Linked DNA regions of Homo sapiens: region 1 is linked to region 2. Evidence: promoter capture Hi-C in human tissues and cell types (Jung and others, 2019). All regions are on one chromosome and are shown on one strand. The core of a region is centred on a gene start or on the middle of the fragment in contact, and the rest is flanking DNA. Distances in the headings are between cores, read along the strand shown. Region 1 overlaps CTBP2 (C-terminal binding protein 2). Region 2 holds the start of TEX36 (testis expressed 36).

The links. Contacts are between HindIII fragments. The study calls those that stand out against the background at their distance.
Region 1: a contact is called between a fragment that was not itself captured here and the fragment with the promoter of TEX36 in region 2, in 1 of the 25 tissues and cell types used here (IMR-90 fibroblasts).

Annotation. Positions count from the first base shown.
Region 1 is chr10:125,028,099-125,032,158 of GRCh38, reverse strand. All of the region lies in intron 3 of CTBP2 (C-terminal binding protein 2), which reads left to right. Among named protein-coding and RNA genes, the nearest start is that of MIR4296, 2.7 kb to the left of the region's middle. The HindIII fragment of the contact is 5,221 bases long and covers 1-4,060 here.
Region 2 is chr10:125,680,593-125,684,800 of GRCh38, reverse strand. It overlaps TEX36 (testis expressed 36), which reads left to right and starts at 1,638. Exons shown (of 4, transcript NM_001128202.3): 1 at 1,638-1,862. The coding sequence starts at 1,812. It overlaps LOC283038 (a long non-coding RNA gene), which reads right to left and starts at 1,558. Exons shown (of 5, transcript NR_033848.1): 1 at 1,470-1,558. The HindIII fragment of the contact is 13,590 bases long and covers 1-4,208 here.

The sequences.
Region 1 (4,060 bases), core at 338-2,837, 650 kb after region 2:
GGTGAGGCCTGTCCTGCATCCCAGCTGGGGTCCCGTTGCACACTTTGGCTCCACCAACACTTTCAAAATGGGCAGTGCAAGAGAATGGGCTTGTTTTTTTTTTTCTTTTGAAACCCCATAATGAGTGGTCTAATTTTCATAATGCAGTTCCCAGGAAGCTTTACAATATAGTTAAGAAATTGAGTCAGAAGCAATGTGCAGGCCTTTGTTTTCACTTACCATGGCTAAATACTGAGAGACATGAGGACTGGGGCTTCTTAGGATGCAGCTAATCTGAAAAAGGCTGGGTTGGTTCAGACACTCGACGTCACTCTCCTGACTTCCTTTGGCGCGTTGCGTGGGTGCCCAAGCCTCCGCGCTCCAGGCCCAGAAATTGGTGAGAGCACTCAGTGTGCAAGCAAGGGTGCACGGTGCACTCAGCCCCTTTGATACCTGAAACGATGTCTGGGCAGTTTTGCTAATTGTTGCTGTGTGCTTGCGTGATTTAGACGAAGGCTGCTTTAAAACCCAGCCAGACTTTGTGTTTGCTATGTAACCAGTGCATTTGGTGTGGCCTCCCACCCTTTGCGTTAGATTAGCCAACTTGGCTACTTTGGGTTGAGGACGTTCGGGGGCAGGGGGTAGGGGGTTGATGAGAGGAAAGACTTTTTTTTTTTTTTTTTTTTTTTTTGAAATGGAGTCTTGCTCTGTTGCCCAGGCTGGAATGCAATGGTTCTGTCTCGGCTCACTGCAACCTGCACCTCCCGGGTTCACGCCATTCTCCTGCCTCAGCCTCCCGAGTAGCTGGGATTACAGGCACCCGCCACCACGCCCGGCTAATTTTTGTATTTTTAGTAGAGACAGGGTTTCGCCATGTTGGCCAGGATGGTCTCCATCTCCTGACATCAGGTGATCCGCCCCACTCAGTCTCCCAAAGTGCTGGGATTACAGGCATGAGCCACGGCACCCGGCCCAAGAAAACTTTTTTAATGGCACAAATTCCACAACACTTAACTTGACAGAAGCAGACAAAAATCCAGCACAGGCTGTCCACATTTAAAAGCAGGAAATGGGTATGCCATAGGCCGATTTTTCTGCCCTGTGTCTGCCAGAAAACCGTGTTACCCGCTAACTTCTGCAGCCTCCCTAGGGAAGCGCTCGCTGTGGGAGACGTAGAGGGCACTGTGGTGGCTCCGTCCTGGGATGCAGCAGGCGCTGAAGAGCCTCCTGAGATGTTATTTCCGCTATCACCTTCAGAGCTGCCCTGGCCCTTTGTGTTGGTGGAGGCAGGATCAGGGAATGGAAGCCCAGGCAGGTGCAGGACCCCCCTGGGGAAGCTGTTCCTTAAGTTCCTTCAGTTGGGAACTTAAGTTGCCTCCTGAGAATGAGCTATTCCCTGAGAAGGCCTTGAGACAAACCTGGCAGCCCACCAAGTGGGCGGGTGACAACACAGTTAAGAGGGACACACCATTGAGCCAAATGGCCCTCATGTTACTGCAACCTTCAGACTCACTGATCCCACCTGTTCTTCTTTTTCTATAAAAGTGAGAATTAGACCCCAGAGTCATGTTTTCTCTCTCATTTCAAGCAGTTTCCTGCATGATTATTCCAATGGGAACATGAAATGCTTGTTGGCAGTTTGTCCAAAGACTGCTCCGTCGGAGGGTACCCACTGATCATCCCCATCCTGGCCTCTCTTCCCAGCTCTTCTGGAACTGTCTGGATCCATCTCTGGAATTGTCTGGATCTCTGTAGGTCTCTGTTGTTAATTGACACCTTGTGTCGCACAGGGACTTCAGAATTGGCTTTGGGTGGACATCGCCTCTCTCCCCGACACAGCTATGTTACACAATCATCTTATTTTTACTTGACATAATTTCTATAGTGAGGGTTTTGGCAGAATTAAAAAATTAAGCCCGTGAGATGTATTACTCTAATGGGTCCCATCTCACTTTTAGTCAACATGAGAATTTTTAAGAAAAGCAGTCCTTTCTAAAAGACTGGAGTGTGGTGTGTGTGTGTGTGTGTGTGTGGTGTTTGTGTAACCAGAGTGTTTGGAAAAGTGAGTCCAGTTACAGGTGTTTTTACCTAGCGCAGGAAAACATCTGTCATAATATTTGTCAAATCTCAGAGCCAAGGCTGTGCGAGTTTGGGTGGTTTCCAAGCAGAACAGGTTGAAAGTTGATAGAAATGGAAGCTGGGCCTCCTGGTTCAATGGGAGGCTGATGCTGCCCCAAAGCGCATCTGCCCACATCTGCCCTGCTCCTGCGATCACCCCTTGGACACCAGCTCAGTAACCTCTCTGAAGAATCATTACTGGTTTCTTAGGCGCTACCGGGTAAACATTCTTCTATAGAGCCCTGTTTACATTTGAGAACTTGCTGAGCTGAAAACCAGATAGCAAAGAAGCTGGTGAGTCAACAGAGCTACCTCACCCTGCTACAAAAAAGACTTGGCATGGGGGATTTTCCCGGAATGCTCCAAGTTTATCCACCCATCTTTGAGGGGTGTGCATGCACCATGAGTGGGGTAGCATAGTACTAACACCACATAAGGTCATGTTGTTCATTACAACAAGGGGAGGAAAGAAATTGGCAAGGTGGCTTAATCCTGAGGCGCTGGCCAGGCGCAGTGGCTCATGCCTGTAATCCCAGCACCTTGGGAGGCTGAGGTGGGTGGATCACCTGAGGTCAGGAGTTTGAGACCAGTCTGGCCAACATGGTGAAGTAGATAGAGTAGAGACATGGTAGGCTCTACTAAAAATATAAAAATTAGCTGGGTGTGGTGGTGCACACCTGTAATCCCAGCTACTTGTGAGGCTGAGGCAGGAGAATTGCTTGAACCCAGGAGGCGGAGACTGCAGTGAGCCGAGATCGCGCCATTGCACTCCAGCCTGAGAAACGAGCAAAACTCGGTCTCAAAAAAAAAAAAAAACTGTGTCTCAAAAAAAAAAAATTTAAAGACTGGTATTTCTCTTTAGAAGATTCTAGTAGAGTGCTAGATTGAGAGAGATGTGAGTGAGGAACAGCACTCGGGTTTAATGCTTGCAGGTATGCATGTTGTCTCATTTTAAAGTGCTTTCAATGTATACAGCCTTTGTAGCTTCCTAATCACCGGCTTTTATTTTTGCTATGAATTCTTTGTCATGGGAATCCTGCAGTTGCAGGGCAGGAACCTACCGTGTTAGTCTGGGATGTTGCTTCTCTGGTACTGTTCCATATGTTTAAGGAAATGTCTTAATACTTCGGGGCACTCCTTTATCTAAATAACTGCTGTTCTTTGCATTATTGCGCCTGAAGTCCTTTGTGGACTCTGAAAGCTTAATCCATGTGAATATGGAAAAGCATCTGCAGGATCTAAGCCTGCTGGAATTAGGCTTTTCATCCTGACATACCTAAAGGAAGATGAGATATTCAGATGCAGCCGCTTCCCAGTTCTGCTTTGCAGTGTAAGGTTTAGTCACCCATCCTCCTGTTCCTGTGACCTCTGTTGCAGTCACTTTAAATCCCAGATTACACACGCCCTTCCCTGGCACTCCCCGGCCCCCCGGCAGCATGAGCCCATCTGTGTTTCACAGTAATAAGGTAAAGAATGCATTTGGGCTTGAGCTCGGAAACCTGTTTGATTCACAACCAAAGAGTCGTCTCAAAGCCAGATCTCAGTATTATCAAAGCATCAGGTTTCAGAGCTGGCCCTTTTTTGGGCTAGGCATCCATGGCCTAGGATCACGTGTGGACCTTTTTCTGTTTATCCATGTTTAATTTGTGTTTAGCTGTGCCATGGATTAACGTTTCATCACGGTGGATTAAGAGTGGACTGACATTGAAGCAGCCTTATTTTGCTTCTGTTACCTCTCAGGAATCAGTGGCAGGGGTGGGAACAGCCCCTTCCAGAGGGGGAGGCAGGGTTCATCCTAAAAGTACCCTGGTGCTTGGAAGAGGGAGTATAAACCTGAGCGTCAGTGTGGAAGTAAATCCCAGTTGCAGCTTGGGAGGGCTGGATAGAGCAAGCCACCGGCTTCATCAGTCTAACGAGATGTCACATGGAACAAAGCTTTAGGGTTTTATTTAGCTCCTAATCC
Region 2 (4,208 bases), core at 389-2,888:
GCTGAGCCAACTGGGGTTGGCCCAATATGATCCATGGGGACACGCCCTTTCCCCTCTACTTCCCTTTCTGCATTCTGCTGCCTGGAACGCAGATGCCATCTGGGGCCAAGTGATGACAGCTGCCCCCTGGAGCTGGTGAGTGGTGGTAGGTGGGAGGGAGCCTCATCTCTGAGAATCCTGAACAGCAGAGCCACCATATCGAGCCTGGACTACTTCCCTCTGGACTTCACTACGCAGAGAGAATAAATGTCTATCATGTTTAAGCCCCTGTTAGTTCGGGTTTCCTGTCCCAGTCAAATTTGTTCGTAATCAATATAGTGCGTCTTGGCAAGGCTGTGAGACGACAGAACTCCCTTGCACTGCTGCTGCTGGGAGTATTTCTTTACACCTGGGCTTTGGAGAGCAGTGGGCAATGCCTGGTAAAGGTGAAAAATAGTGTCTGTTGCACTGGGTTTGTCAGCAGGTAGCAGAAATCCTGGAAGGGTTTACTCCACACACAACAGTATTGCCTGGTACAGCAGCTCTGCAACACCAAAAGAGGTGGCCCACCACCTTTTCCTCCTCTCCTTACCATGTGGCTTTTGGCATCATAGTGCAAGAGGACCTGTGCATCTCCGGTGTCACATCTAAGGGCCACCTCTGGCCCTTCAGTGCTGGCAGTGGATAAGGTCCTCTATCACTACTACAGCAACTCTCCTTGGAAAACCTAGGAGGGTGACTGGAGGAGGAAAGGGTGGAGGACACAATTTCTGAGTGAGAGAGCAGCTGGACAGGTTGTCCTGCATGTGTTTACTCTCGTATTCACACGGAGTAGCCAAGAGAATTGGCAAGACACAACATTAAAAAAAAAAAGAAAGAAAGAAAAGCAGAAAACACCTTACTGAGTAGAAGGGAGGCAGGACGTGTGTGTCCAGGCCCCGAGAGAAACGCCAGATTTCACGAGCAGCCTTTGCAGCCCTGGGGATGCCAGGTGGCCCTTGGCAAGGCTCATGAGCTCTGGAGCTGGCCCATGACCTTGCTGGGACTTGTGGCATCCCATCCATTGCTGTATGTCCCTTGTTTCCTATTTGTAAATGTTGAAGGTTGTCGTGGAGAAAAAATAAAAACAGGTGAATGTTTAGTTTAGCACAGCACTTGGCATATAATAATTATTCATGAGTGTTACTTCCTCATGGTCTCAATGCTGTGCCAGGCAGGTAAGAGTGGCTGTGAGTGAGTCCTGAGGTTGGGTCCGAGCTGAGACACAGAGGCTGCCACAGAAGGAGATGGTAGGCAGCGTGGGTCCTGGGTGCAGCAGTGCCACTGATGCAGACAAGGTCACCCCCAGCCTGGGACTCAACTTACTTCTCTGAAAACTAACAGGTTGGAACATACAGTTGCCAGGGGGACATGCAACTCAAACATTATTGGTTCAAAAATTGAGAGGGTACAAAATGTTTGCCATTACCCCCAAATCATCTTGTCCTTACCTGTCTGAGCTGACCACAGGGCTTCCTCAGCTGGGACCTGGTGGCTCTTTGCCTCTTACCCTGGGGAGTCACAGCTGCAAGGAACCAGTGGCAAGAATCCTCCGAGGGTTTAGAAGACTCCTTTGCCCATTGTGATGGGTGAGTTCCCATTCCATGACAACAATGGGCACCCGCACCTTCCCCTCCTGGAAGAGGCTGAGAAGTAAAGATCAGGAACAAGGAGGAGGAGGAGCTTCCCAGACGTGTAGAGCTTATGAAGTTTAGGAAGCAGCTTCCCAGACATGTAGAGCTTATGGAGAGGTGAGGGAGCCAATCTCAGCCACATTCAGCTTCCTGGAGAGAATGACCAAAGGGCGACGCTTCAACCCACCTTCAGACAAGGATGGGAGATGGGTAAGGAAGATGGTGGCCCCTGGTGCCTTTCTCATGCCACGTGGGTGTGGTCAACAGTCTGAGGAGTTCCAATCCTGCTTCTACTATTACTGAAGCATGACCTTTGACAAATCACTTCACTTTACTCAACCTCAGTTTCTTCATCTGTGACATGGGAATCCTCTAACACTCTTGCAAAGATTGAATGAAATAATGCATGTAAAATGCTCAGCACACTGGAACCTCGTGAATGTCCACTAAGCAGTCATTCCTGCTCTACTTTTTCTTTCTTCCTTAACATCTATTTTCTAACATACTACAGAACTTATTCTCTTATCTATGTTATTTTTCTCCCCTTGCTAGAATATAAGCTCCATGGAGCTGGGATTTTTGTCTATTTTATTCACTGATGTATCCCCAGTGCCTAGAACAGGATCTGGAGCATAGAAGGCACTCAATACATATGTGTTGAAGTAATTATATTATACTAGAAACCTCTAAACAAATTCTTGTTGGCTCCCAATCCAATTCCTTTAGCCCCTCCGGCCTATGAAATGAGAAGAGTCCAGGAATGCATCATTTACTCATCTTCATCACTTGAAAACTTTCCCTTTCCAGCTTCACGCTCTCCCCCAACTCTTGCTCTTCTGATGTCACTTACAGAGCCTGTGGGATTTTTCACTCTTCTACCATCTTCAGGAAACATTTGGGTCACTCCTAAGTGTGAGGTCTTAGCCTTGTCGGCCAAGCACTTCTCTCCTTTGCTCTTCAACATGTATATTTCATGGCCGACAAGCCTCAAGCCTTTCCCATTTCTGATTTCTACAATTCATTCACAAAAAGAATGTTAAGGGGAAATCACAGCAGTAGACTCGCAATGAGAAACATAATCAGAGAAAAACCTGACGTCGACTTCTTTTAGGGTAGCAACAGGTAAAAAATTGTTAAAATTTTAATTTGTTTCAAAGAAAAACAGAAAACACTTCAGCAAATTTGGGTCTGAAGGCTTTAAAAAACTGATCTACCCACTTGGATACAACCTTGGCTAAGCAGCTTAGTCTTTCTAAGTCTCAGTTTCTTTGTCTGTAAAATGGGAGCATAATGTACCAAGGGTAGAAGACCATGGTGGGGGATTCACGACTCATTAACAAGTGCTCAGTACAATGAGTGAGCACATAGAAACCACTTAACATATATACACTTTGTATGTATGTGTACATATACGTGTATACACACAAATGTATACCTTGTTTCATTCCACAAAAATTTAAAGCATGGAAAATGTACACAATAAAATAATACAGTATAAATCAAATAGAAAGTTATAACTAGTTTTATAAATACTTTAGAAAGAGAAGAGGCTGAGTCTGAGAACACATATAACATAGACATAATATTAGGTATATTTCCAGGATTATATGGTAGATATTTGGGCACCACATTTGACTCTGAGTTCCCTGGCAGCCAAAGTAAAATGAGAGATAATGTCAACTCCATAAAGCTAAGTTCCCATGAAAAGAAAAATGTAAGTTGCTCAGATTAAGTAGCTTTCCCTCTAGCTATTACCTATGTATCAGTTACAATTGTTAGCCTGAATTTTATAGAAGGCTGACTAAAGTGACTACAGTGTCTTAACCAAATAGGGATTTATATTTCTTAAGTAACAATGAAACCTAGAAGTTGGCCATCCCAGGCTAGTACAGCTGCTCAAGGGAGTCATCAGCAGCTCCCTTTTCAGCATTCTGTTTTGCCATCCTTAGTGTGGGATGACTCCAGCTCCAAACAGTGAATCCACAACTCAGGCAGGGAAATAAGAGGAAGGTCAAAGGACAAAAAGATGGAAGGCGCCTGTCACCTAAGTCTGCCCCTTTTTATCAGGAAAACAATACTTTCCTGCCTTCCCTGGAGCCTGCTCCCTAGACCTCTGCTTCCATCTCACTGTGTCACATGGCCAATTTAGCTAAAAGGGTGTCTGAGGAGGTGTTTTTTTTAACCAACCACATGGCTGCTGTGAATGAAGAACCTGAATTCTGTGGTAAGGGGGAAAGCGAGAATCAACATTTCATAGGAAGAAATTTTATTTTATCCTTCTATCAAGACCCCAGAAACGTAGCCCAGTCCCTGGGTTTTAGGGAGAAAGGCACTGTTCCCCAAAGCTTGGCTTGGGCCTTTGGCAAAAATCCTTTCTGCTGTCAGCACCTAAGAGCATAAAAAGAATAGTGCTGATCATGAAGTTTCCCAAAGTAACTTGTAGACGAGGAGGGAAAAATTAAAGAAATTATTGGCTTTGAGTCAGCTGCAGCCCATTTGGGAGGACCGTAATTGCCACATTAGAGGTGACAGTCATTTTGCAGTTGACCTTGCTGG